4 separate regions of the Homo sapiens genome follow, and all the other regions are linked to region 2. Evidence: promoter capture Hi-C in human tissues and cell types (Jung and others, 2019). All regions are on one chromosome and are shown on one strand. Each heading gives the region's core, a stretch centred on a gene start or on the middle of the fragment in contact. The rest is flanking DNA. Distances are from core to core; before and after follow the strand shown.

Evidence for each region. Contacts are between HindIII fragments. The study calls those that stand out against the background at their distance.
Region 1: a contact is called between a fragment that was not itself captured here and the fragment with the promoter of YKT6 in region 2, in 3 of the 25 tissues and cell types used here (dorsolateral prefrontal cortex, lymphoblastoid cells and mesenchymal stem cells).
Region 3: a fragment that was not itself captured here is called in contact with the fragment with the promoter of YKT6 in region 2 in 2 of the 25 tissues and cell types used here (lymphoblastoid cells and mesenchymal stem cells).
Region 4: a contact is called between a fragment that was not itself captured here and the fragment with the promoter of YKT6 in region 2, in 2 of the 25 tissues and cell types used here (dorsolateral prefrontal cortex and spleen).

Annotation. Positions count from the first base shown.
Region 1 is chr7:44,380,667-44,383,366 of GRCh38, forward strand. NUDCD3 (NudC domain containing 3) reads right to left here. Exons shown (of 6, transcript NM_015332.4): 6 at 1-2,700. Among named protein-coding and RNA genes, the nearest start is that of CAMK2B, 56 kb to the left of the region's middle. The HindIII fragment of the contact is 4,191 bases long and covers 1-2,700 here.
Region 2 is chr7:44,199,711-44,202,410 of GRCh38, forward strand. It overlaps YKT6 (YKT6 vesicular SNARE protein), which reads left to right and starts at 1,268. Exons shown (of 7, transcript NM_006555.4): 1 at 1,268-1,529. The coding sequence starts at 1,426. RefSeq lists a silencer at 1,375-1,444. The HindIII fragment of the contact is 4,070 bases long and covers 788-2,700 here.
Region 3 is chr7:43,985,358-43,988,057 of GRCh38, forward strand. It overlaps the pseudogene POLR2J4. Among named protein-coding and RNA genes, the nearest start is that of SPDYE1, 11 kb to the right of the region's middle. RefSeq lists a silencer at 606-655. The HindIII fragment of the contact is 3,948 bases long and covers 1-2,700 here.
Region 4 is chr7:44,442,591-44,445,290 of GRCh38, forward strand. The region is part of intron 2 of NUDCD3 (NudC domain containing 3); the gene reads right to left. Among named protein-coding and RNA genes, the nearest start is that of NUDCD3, 47 kb to the right of the region's middle. The HindIII fragment of the contact is 5,034 bases long and covers 1-2,700 here.

The DNA.
Region 1 (2,700 bases), core at 201-2,700, 180 kb after region 2:
GAACTCTCAGGCTGGAGCTCAGCAGTCCCACTAGGGACCACCACTGGGGTCACAAGATGGCCTTGATCCCCAGTTATCTGGATCCCCAGTTCCCTGAACCAGAGCAGCTTCCTAAACTCCCTAGTCCAGCAGAGGTTAGGGCTCGCTTTCCCTGCTAGAGGGGCCTCCTCCAAACCCCACAGTGCCCCAACAACACTTCCTGTCCTCTGGTAGACCCTTACCTGCCTGTGTCTTGCACAAAGTGCACACTGGGAGGCAAGAGCCTGTCTCTGCAGTAAGAAGGGCTTGGGGCAGTGCTCCGCTGGCAGGCAGACAAGGCAGGCAGGGCCCCAGCCCAATGCCTGAGTCAGCAGGCTCCTAACAGCCTGAGTGACCTCCTCATAGCATGGGGTCAGTGCAGCGGCAATGTCTGGGTTGTTGAGGGTTTTGATGGGTGATCAATGCTGGAGGATCCTCCCTCTGCCTTCCCCATCCAACACAGATCATCTCCAATGTGCCAGACCTGTGCTGGGCAACAAGGTTGGCTGAGATGGCCTGAGACAGGGTCCCTTGATGAACAGTCCACTGGGAATGGGGCCTGCAGTGGCCCTGGATGATTTCAGTATCTGCCACTCACCTTGGTCATGATGCCACAGAGAGTGTGGCATGGCCAGGACTGTACCTGGGGCAGATGGTCTTGCTCTTTGGTTCTGGGGAGGAGCGCAAAGTGACTGGGCTCAGGTGAAGGAGCTGTTGGCTTATGAGGAGGCTGCTCCAAGAAGCAAATAGGAGACAAGGAACCACTGGCCTGCAGATGGGGCAGGATCCTGGACCTGGGCCCCCCGAGTCACCAGCCACATGGCCTTGGGAGTGTTACTTACTCCTGTGATTGTAGCACAATGAGGGGTTAGACTACAAAGTCCCTCAGGCCCTGACCAGCTCTGGGGAAGAAGGCCTAGGACTGAGAGAGGCAGCAGGGAGGCTGGCCAGGGTCACCTCCCAGGTCCAGGCAGCTTTCCTGCAAGTGTTTCCTAAGCTGTCCTTCTCCAGGGAGAATAGCCTCAGCCCTGCCTGACAGGAGGCGGCATACACCTGAGCGCCTGACAGTACCCTCGTGAACCTGCCTGAGGGTGGCCACATTCCCACACCCCATGTGTGCCTATCTCCATCAGCACTGAGAAGACAGCAAACGCCAGCTTGCCAGGGGTTTACCCAGAAAGCCCAGCGCATACCCCCAGAGTGTTCTGGCAGACCTGTGCCAGCTGGGTTCAGTGACAGTTCATCCTGCCATGGGCTCTGGTCTCCCCATCACCCTCTGAGGGGGAAGCAGGAAGTTGTGAGGGGTAGCCGGGCCTGACCTCTCTTCCCTGGCACGATGCTGTCTCCCTGTGCAAAGTGGGGACTTCAGGCATTTGGTGTGGAGGAATGGGTGGTGGGATTGAAAACCCCTACCAGACCCCTGTCACACCAAGGAGCCCAGCGATGGGGGGGTTTCTTCCCTCCCTCTGAGGTAAGACCAATCTGTTAAACTTTCAGTACTAAAAAATAAAACCGAGTGGGAGGAAGGTGAGGACTGAAAAACTACATATCAGGTATCATGCTGATTACCTGGGTGACAAAATTATCTGTACACCAAACCCCTATGATCCAATTTACCCATGTAACAACCCTTGAACCTAAAGTTGGAAAGAAAAAAAAAGGTAAAATTAACAAATCCATATTAGTGTGAGCTGGGTGAGTAGTTTAGTCTGAAATGACAGAATATTCATTTTTCGTCTCTCTGAGATAGTGACCACACTGTCCTCACCAGGACTGGCAGGGGAAGCCCCAGGGCTTTGTGACCCTGTCCCTATGGGGCACCCTGGCGTCCAGTGGGCACTCCCCAGGGCAGCAGCCTGGTTTAAATGCCTGTTCCCCAGACCCCACAGTCAGACGGTAGAGAGGAGCCTCAGGGACATAGCCCAGTTCTTCAGGACCGTGGGCCACATGGGCTGCTTGACCTCTGACCACCAAGGAGGGAGTTTCTCAAGGACTGGCCAGGTTCTGTGCTGACAACTTCGTGCTTTTCATCGACAAAGCGAGTCATGCTGTCCCTTCCCCAGCTGAGCTGGCTGCCAACAGGCCCAGTGGAGAGCAGATTTGAGGTGGGGGTGAGGTCTGTTCCCCAAGCGCAGTGTTCTGGGCAGTGAGTTCTCTGTGCAGCAGCTGACGCCTCTTGGACACATTTCCACACAAAACACTTCTCAACTGTTCTCCCTCCTGCACTCTTCAGGGGCAAATACGCCTCTCCTTTCTGGCGGGTTATTTCTGGCCCTGGGAGTATGCTAGGCAATTCTAAGGATTGCCTTTGAAACAGTCTTTATTCAGCCAAGTACTTCTCACACCCCTAGGTCCTGTCCCCAGGGGTGAGCAGGGTCAGAGGAGGCTGGAGATGGGGTGGGCACAGAGAAGGAGAGTCAAAGATCTGACTGAGGAAGAAGCAGGTGGCCAGCCACCTGGGAGACTTCTGTGTCAGACACGGCGTTATGTCCTGGAGGAAGCCCATTGCGAGGGCTCAGCAAAGTTAACAGCAGGTATGCACCTGGAGACCAAGGAGGGCCTTGGAGCCTGGTGGGCAAAGGTGGCCCTTCAGTGGAATCATTCCCAACTCTGCACTCACCCTAAGCTTTCCAGTAACTACAGAATTCCAGAACCTGTTTGAAAGGATGTAAGATCTATAGC
Region 2 (2,700 bases), core at 18-2,517:
TTGACTTCCTCTTTTCTTAATTGAATACCCTTTATTTCCTTCTCCTACCTGATTGCCCTGGCCAGAACTTCCAACACTATGTTGAAAAGGAGTGGTGAGAGAGGGCATCCCAGTCTTGTGCCAGTTTTCAAAGGGAATGCTTCCAGTTTTTGTCCATTCAGTATGATATTGGCTGTGGGTTTGTCATAGATAGCTCTTATTATTTTGAGATACGTCCCATCAATACCTAATTTATTGAGAGTTTTTAGCATGAGGGTTGTTGAATTTTGTCAAAGGCCTTTTCTGCATCTATTGAGATAATCATGTGGTTTTTGTCTTTGGTTCTGTTTATATGCTGGATTACGTTTACTGATTTTCGTATGTTGAACCAGCCTTGCATCCCAGGGATGAAGCCCACTTGATCATGGTGGATAAGCTTTTTGATGTGTTGCTGGATTCGGTTTGCCAGTATTTTACTGAGGATTTTTGCTTCAATGTTCATCAAGGATATTGGTCTAAAATTCTTTTTTTGTTGTGTCTCTCTCTGCCACCCTTTGGTATCAGGATGATGCTGGCCTCATAAAATGAGTTAGGGAGGATTCTCTCTTTTTCTTTTGATTGGAATAGTTTCAGAAGGAATGGTACAAGCTCCTCCTAAAATGTGGCACATATACACCATGGAATACTATGCAGCCATAAAAAATGATGAGTTCATGTCCTTTGTAGGGACATGGATGAAGCTGGAAACCATCATTCTCAGCAAACTATTGCAAGGACAAAAAACCAAACACCGCATGTTCTCACTCATAGGTGGGAATTGAACAATAAGAACACATGGACACAGGAAGGCGAACATCACACACCGGGGACTGTTGTGGGGTGGGGGGAGGGGGGAGGGATAGCATTAGGAGATATACTTAATGCTAAATGACGAGTTAATGGGTGCAGCACACCAACATGGCACATGTATACATATGTAACAAACCTGCACGTTGTGCACATGTACCCTAAAACTTAAAGTATAATAATAAAAAAAATGCTTACTTTAAAAAAAGAAAGAAAAGAAAAAAAAAAAAAAGAAGGGTTCAGGCCGCTGTGGGAGGCCCAGCACCACCCAGCACAAGACAGTACGGTATCCCGCCGCGCGCCCGACTCCACCTGGCGAGCAGGGAGGGGCCAAGCTTACGCGAGGCGTGGCATCCCGCCCCTCGCTGCATTGTACTTCCGGGCTCACATTTCTGCATCCGGAGTATGAGAACCCTCAACCAGGCTGACCGGATCCGGAAGTGGATTGCGAGCCAGGAGGAGGAAGCCGGCGGTGGCCCCGTCAGCAGCCGGCTGCTGAGAGGCCGGTAGGCGGCGGCGGTCCCGAGGGGCGGCGGCCGCGCTGCTCCCTGAGAACGGGTCCCGCAGCTGGGCAGGCGGGCGGCCTGAGGGCGCGGAGCCATGAAGCTGTACAGCCTCAGCGTCCTCTACAAAGGCGAGGCCAAGGTGGTGCTGCTCAAAGCCGCATACGATGTGTCTTCCTTCAGCTTTTTCCAGAGATCCAGGTGAGCGGCACAGGCTGGTGGGCCGTGGCGGTCGGGCGGAGAGGACTGGGGTGGGGGTCCGAGTCGGAGTGGGCCTGGGGTCGGCGGAGGGATGAGGGGAGGGTGGAGGAGGCCAAGGGTAGGGGCAGGGCGGGGTGGCCGAGTGCCCGGGGTCTGAGAAGGCTGGTGTCCGAGTCAGAGGCGGGGCGGGGTGGGGAGGGCCCGGGGTCTGCTGTCCGGGCTTGGTCTCCTATAATGGAATCTGGCCGTGGACTCTACCTTTGAGGAACCAACATTAGCTCTTTAAGAGCTTATACCATTCTAGAATATAGTTCTCTACTCAGTGTTTTTCAAATTTCTGTCGTGTAAAAATTTTAAGGAGACTGTGAAGTAGTGCAGATTTCCAAGCTTCATGCCAAGATGTTCTGAATTAGTAGATTGAGGCCTCGGTATTTATATTTTAGACCAACACTTCCCACCCAGTGATTCTGACTCTGGGAGCTTGGGTGCCGCATCTTGAGAGCCATATTTTGATTTTCTTGCGGGGCTTCCCAACAATTCTGTATGAGAGATAGTGATATACTTTTTTTTGTTTGTTTTTAATGGGTGAAGTCACTGAGGTACCAAGAGGTTATATCACAACCAGCTAGAACTGAAAGCCAGGTTTAACGCTTTTTAGTTGGACACTAGTGGTACAAAAGGATTCCACACGGAAGATGCAAATGAAGCATGGGATCTGTAGGGCTTACAGGCTTTTACTTGTTTCTGGGGCGCTTTAATTGCTGGAACGTGTTAGAAGTAACACAGACACTTCCAGACCATTCGTGGGAGGGATTGGGGTGACTCAGGCACGAAAGAAGGAGGACCCTACATGGTCGGTATCTATGGTCATCTTGTCTCAAAATCTGATGGAATCTGCCGTTTGGATTCTGTTTTCCCTGCTTCAGTGCAGCTGGTTCTTGATGAGAGTTCTTTGCCAAGGACTTGCTGGATGTAAAAAAAAAAAAATGTTATTTTGTTGAAACTTTCTGCTTCTTTGAGTTCTTTTAAAAAAATATTTTTAATTGTGGTAAAATGGTACACAAAATTTATCTTCACTATCTTTAAGCGTGTAGTGAGTGCATTGATATGAAATAGATTGATAGTGTTGTGCAGCCATCACTGTCAATCGTCTCCAGAACTCCTTTTTATC
Region 3 (2,700 bases), core at 95-2,594, 210 kb before region 2:
TCTCCCCTGATCAAAACCCACTCCCGGCTCCCATAGGCTGCAGGATACAGCCCAGTTCCTCAGCTAGGCACCTGGGGCCCCTTGCCTGGCCTGGCTGCATGCACCCCTCCTGCTCCTCCTGCCCCTCCTGCCCCCACACCTCCCCACCCCCTTTTTATCACTCCCTCTCCCCCTCCTCCCCAAATCCCACCAGGGCTAGGTCTCCCCTTTTCTCTAGGAAGCCTTGTGGACACTCTCTGTGCCCCAGGCTCAGGCACCTGAGCTCTGTATGAAACCCTGACACCCCCCCCTTTTTTTTTTTAAATGGAGTCTCACTCTGTCACCCAGGTTGGAGTGCAGTGATGCAATCTCAGCTCACTGCAACCTCCACCTCCCAGGTTCAAGCCGTTCTCCTTCCTCAGCCTCCTGAGTAGCTGGGATTACAAGCACGTGCCACCACACCCAGCTAATTTTTTGTATTTTTAGTAGAGCTGGGGTTTCACTATGTTGGCCAGGCCGGTCTTGAACTCCTGACCTCAGGTGATCTGCGGGCCTCAGCCTCCCAAAGTGCTGGGATTACAGGCGTGAGCCACTGCACCCGGCCTGTATGGCGTCTTGAGGCAATGCTCAGAGCTTGGTGTGAAAGCAATTCACCTCCTCCTTGGGCGCCTCCCCGACTGGGGTGTCCGCAGGCGGCAACCACTTGCAATCCCAGATGCTGCCACCAGGGGGTGCACAGTACCCGCTTGGAAGGTGGGCAGGGGCGGGCGGGGAGGAACTAGAGAGGGAGGGGTTAATGCCCAAGGGCCCCGCCCCTCCCAAGAGGCATGGGCGGTCTCAGCCCGGTCCACTCACCAGCTGTATATGAGCACAGCCAGGAGGACCGTGAGGACGACGGCCAGGAGGATAGACAGGATGGCGATGATGACCACGGTGCCCGGGCTCTGGGGGCCAGGGACAGCCCGAAGTGCCTGGGCTGAGGGCAGTGATGGGGGCCGCATAGGCGGGCAGGAAAAGAAATTTTACCTGACCGGAAGGGGCCCTTGGGCAGAATCCAGACCAATCACCGCCCTGCCTCCCCTACCACCACCCAGGCCTGGGGGAAGGGGGTGGCTGGGGGAGGGGCGCCTGCAGATTGCAAGATGGTTGGCTGCCTCTGACTGAGTGGTGAGCTGACCTGTTCCCCCAGCCCATCCTCAGTCCTCAGGACCCCCAGGCCCCAGCCCCCTGCCCCTACTGTTTGACCGGAGCCTCTGGCCCCTACCTTGCTGCAGGCGAGTGTTGCTGGACCACTTTGTTTCAGCCACGGGTCCTTTGTCATTCATCACCAGGAACTTCACCCTGAATGGGAGACCCAGCATTGGCCATGGGGGTCCCCCGGAGTCCTGAAACCATCAGACTTGGTGCCTGCAAGTCTGTCCCCTGGAGTCCCAGGCCCTGGCGAGAGCAGCCCGGGGAGGGGGCCGGAGGCTGGGGCGAAAGAGCCCAACAGAATGGGTTCAAATCTAGGTGTGACATTTCCAGTGGTGTGACGTCCCTCCCCCTCTCTGGGCTTCTGTGTCCTCATTTGGGAAAGGTAGGGGGTGAGTATTAGATCTCTCAGAACTGAACATGCGTGAATCAAGCATTTAGTGAGGGGAGACCCTGTCTGGATGGAGAGACGCCACCTGAGTGGTCCACATGGCCTGTGGGGACTGGGGCTTGAGGTGGGGAACCTTCTGCTCAAGAAAAGCAGGATAGGCCAGGCATGGTGGCTCACGTCTGTAATCCCAGCACTTTGGGAGGCCAAGGTGGGCAGATCACTTGAAGCCAGGAGTTGAGACCCGCCTGGCCAACATGGTGAAACCTCATCTCTACTAAAATTACAAAAATTAGCCAGGCATGGTGGCAGGTACCTGGCCAACATGGCGAAACCCTGTCTCTACTAAAAATACAAAAATTAGTCGGGTGTGGTGTCAGATGCCTGTAATTCCAGCTACTCGTTAGGCTGAGGCTGGAGAATCGCTTGAACCCAGGAGGCACAGGTTGCAGTGAGCCGAGATCACACCACTCTACTCCAGCCTGGGTCACAGAGCAAGACTCCATCTCAAAAAAAAAAAAAAAAAGAAGAAGAAGAAGACGACGAAGAAGAAGAAAAGGAAAAAAAAAAAAAAAGAAGGATAATTCATGTAATTCATGAAGGCCTCCCCAGCCCCTGCCTGCTGCTTCCTCTTCCCTTTGGCCAAGCAGGAGCAGGGGACCCAGGCATCCTGCTGGGGCCCTGGTGAGCCTCGTAGGAGCTGCCCCAGGCTCCGGCTTGGGTGCATGCGGGCAGGAGCCAGGGCCTGGCAGAGCCGCTCACCTGTAGGGGCTCGGTCCTGGTAGGGGATGGTTGCAGCCAATTTTTGTTGGTTGGCAGTGGGTATCATTGCCAACACGGAGGACATGGAGCTGGCCTCTGGCCTGGTACAGCACCCGGTTGGCCCTCAGTGTGAGATAGTAGCCCCTCTGGGAGAAGTTGGCAGGAGCAGGGATGTCCTGGTTTGTCCGTGGGGCCGTGAAGCTCTGGGTGGCTAAGGGTGGCACCATGGTCAGACAGGTCACACAACAGGATCCCACCCTCACCTTACCAAGCCTGACAGCCCTCCCCAGCCCCATCCCCTGCAGCACCTGCTCCCTGCATCTCCCTGCAACACACCCGCTACTGCCCTTAGGCCCACAGGCCCATTTCACATAGGGAAA
Region 4 (2,700 bases), core at 115-2,614, 240 kb after region 2:
TCTGTCTCAGCTCACTCATTGAATTACTTTCCTCTTACCCTCAAGTCTTTAACAAAATTGAACTTCCTCCCTAACTACAAGAGGGGCGGACTCTCCCCTTTTCTTTTTTTTTTTTTTTTTTTTGAGACAGAGTCTCACTCTTTGGCCCAGGCCGGACTGCAGTGGCGCTATCGCGGCTCACTGCAAGCTCCGCCTCCCGGGTTCACGCCATTCTCCTGCCTCAGCCTCCCGAGTAGCTGGGACTACAGGCGCCCACCACTGCGCCTGGCTAAATTTTTTTTCTTTCTATTTTTAGTAGAGAAGGGGTTTCACCGTATTAGCCAGGATGGTCTCGATCTCCTGACCTCGTGATCCACCCACCTTGGCCTCCCAAAGTGCTGGGATTACAGGGGTGAGCCACCGCACCTGGCCTCCCCTTTTCTTTATAGCACCTTCATACTTAACACCATGACATCAAATGACAACGTATTCACACAGAAAGCAGGCATTTTGTTTACTGGTTTATTTATGTTTACTTATGCAACCAAGAGAACCTATATGGCTGTCATGGGAGCCCTACCTTCTAGAAAGAGAACAACCACATCCAGCACAGTTTCTAACACACTCTGCATACAGGTGGGATGAGCTTTGAACACATTCAATATAAAAAAAAAAAGAACAGGTAACAGGTACAATGAGACTGCATGCTAATCTTAAAGAAGACATTCCACAACTTGTTACCTTTAAATTATCAGCTTTCCTATTACATTAAACAAGATTCAAGTAGCCAAAGTCTGAATTTTGTTTTCAATTTTACAAGAAATCTTTTTTTTTCTTTTCTTTTTTCTTTTCTTTTTTTGAGATGGGGTCTCGCTCTGTCGCCCAGGCTGGAGTGCAGTGGCGCCATCTTGGCTCACTGCTACCTCCACCTCCCGGGTTCAAGCAATTCTCCTGCCTCAGTCTCCTCAATAGCTGGGATTACGGGCATGCACCATCACACCCAGCTAATTTTTGTATTTTTAGTAGAGACGGGGTTTCGCCATGTTGGCCAGGCTGGTCTCGAACTCCTGGCCTCAAGTGATCCACCTGCCGCAGCCTCCTTCTAAATGCTGGGATTACAGGCGTGACCCACAGTGCCTGGCCCAATTTCACAGGACTTCTAAGAGCTGGATGCTGTTTAGGCTGAGGTCCTTGACTGTCTAGGTGAAGACCTGGGGCCCAGGTGCTGCTCGGGATAGTGGAGAAGAGACCCCACCTCAGCTCAAGCCCCATCTTCAGTTCTCCTGGGAGGTGGTTTACTGTAAAGTCAGTCTTCTTTATGAGCACCAGCCTCCTCTCATTATACTCTGAAATGCCTGTGTTTGCAAGCAAAAATGTACAACTGGAATTCAAGAGTATAGTCTATGAAATTCTCATAAAAGTGAGATTCCAGGTGTGTTCATCTAAGACTAATGCATTTGGATACCTCTCAGCTTCAAAAGACGCTATCATGTGAAAAGGCTAGAGCTTTTTCTATGAGCAAAACCGAAGGTTTGCTGTATTGAGAACAGAATTTCTGGAATGAGAAGGCTCAGGCCAGTGCAAGGAGGGCTACAGACTCAGGGTCCCTGCCCGCCACTTTAACCTTCTCATCTCACAGGTTATCAACAGATGATAGGATAGGAGGCATCCTATCACCTGTTCCTTGGCCTGTAAATCTAAAAAGAGAAAGCCAGAAAAAGTAAAGCAGCCCCTCTGCCCCTCTTCTTTCTGAGAAAGCATCCAGATAATCACAAAGGTTTGCTCCCTCCAAGACCTGTCCGAGGTGTCCCAGGCCTGGGGACAGGGGAAGGTGGATGTAAAGAACAGAAAGCTTTTCTGGCTGGGAGACAGGGCCCAATCCCTGAGAAGCCTCACACAAGTGCAGCATTTATATACATTCACAAAGAGAAAACCTCAACAAACTCGAGTTTGCTATTTAATAGAATCTTACACTAAGTCCTTTTGGTAAAGCAAAGAATTACTTTGACAGAGCAAAACTCCTCTACAAATTGAATACTTACATAACACCCCAACTTTAACGTTAATTAGCACGCACCCACTATCAGTAATGCTGAGTCCTGTAGGCCTGGGAGAAGCTCCCACTCCCCTCTGTGAGACCCTGTGCCGTAAGTATCACTTGGTCTCTTGGATCCCCAAGCCCTTCTTACCCACTGATACCTTGCCTCATGCCTCACTCTTCCTTAAAATCAGTCAAACACAAGGACTCACAACTCTTCTTTCAACCAGCCTTCTGTTCAGGCTGCTGCCTTCTTCCTTTTATTCCCAGCGAAACATCTTGAGTCAGTTTCTTCCCACCTTACCTTCCAATATGCCCCACTGTGAAATCTCTGCCAATCACAAATGACTTCCAAGTATCATAACCAAACTTGCCTTTCTGAATTTCTGTCCATCTGATACCTCCACAACATCTGACATGAATGTCCCACCCTTGGACTACCCAGGCTCTCCCTCTGCTCCACCTCCACCTGTTCTCCCTCTCCTCCAACTCACTGGTTTCCTTTGGCTGACCCTTCCTGCTGCCTGCCCCTTACACTCCAAAGAACACAGTGCTATCTCTATATCTTCCGCACATGCACCCCTGAACTGCAACAGCTGCCTGGTATGTATCCTTTCTACATCCCCTACCTTGTCCACCCTGACTGACTGCTGCCTATTAACTTTCTGACAAATCTGAGCAAA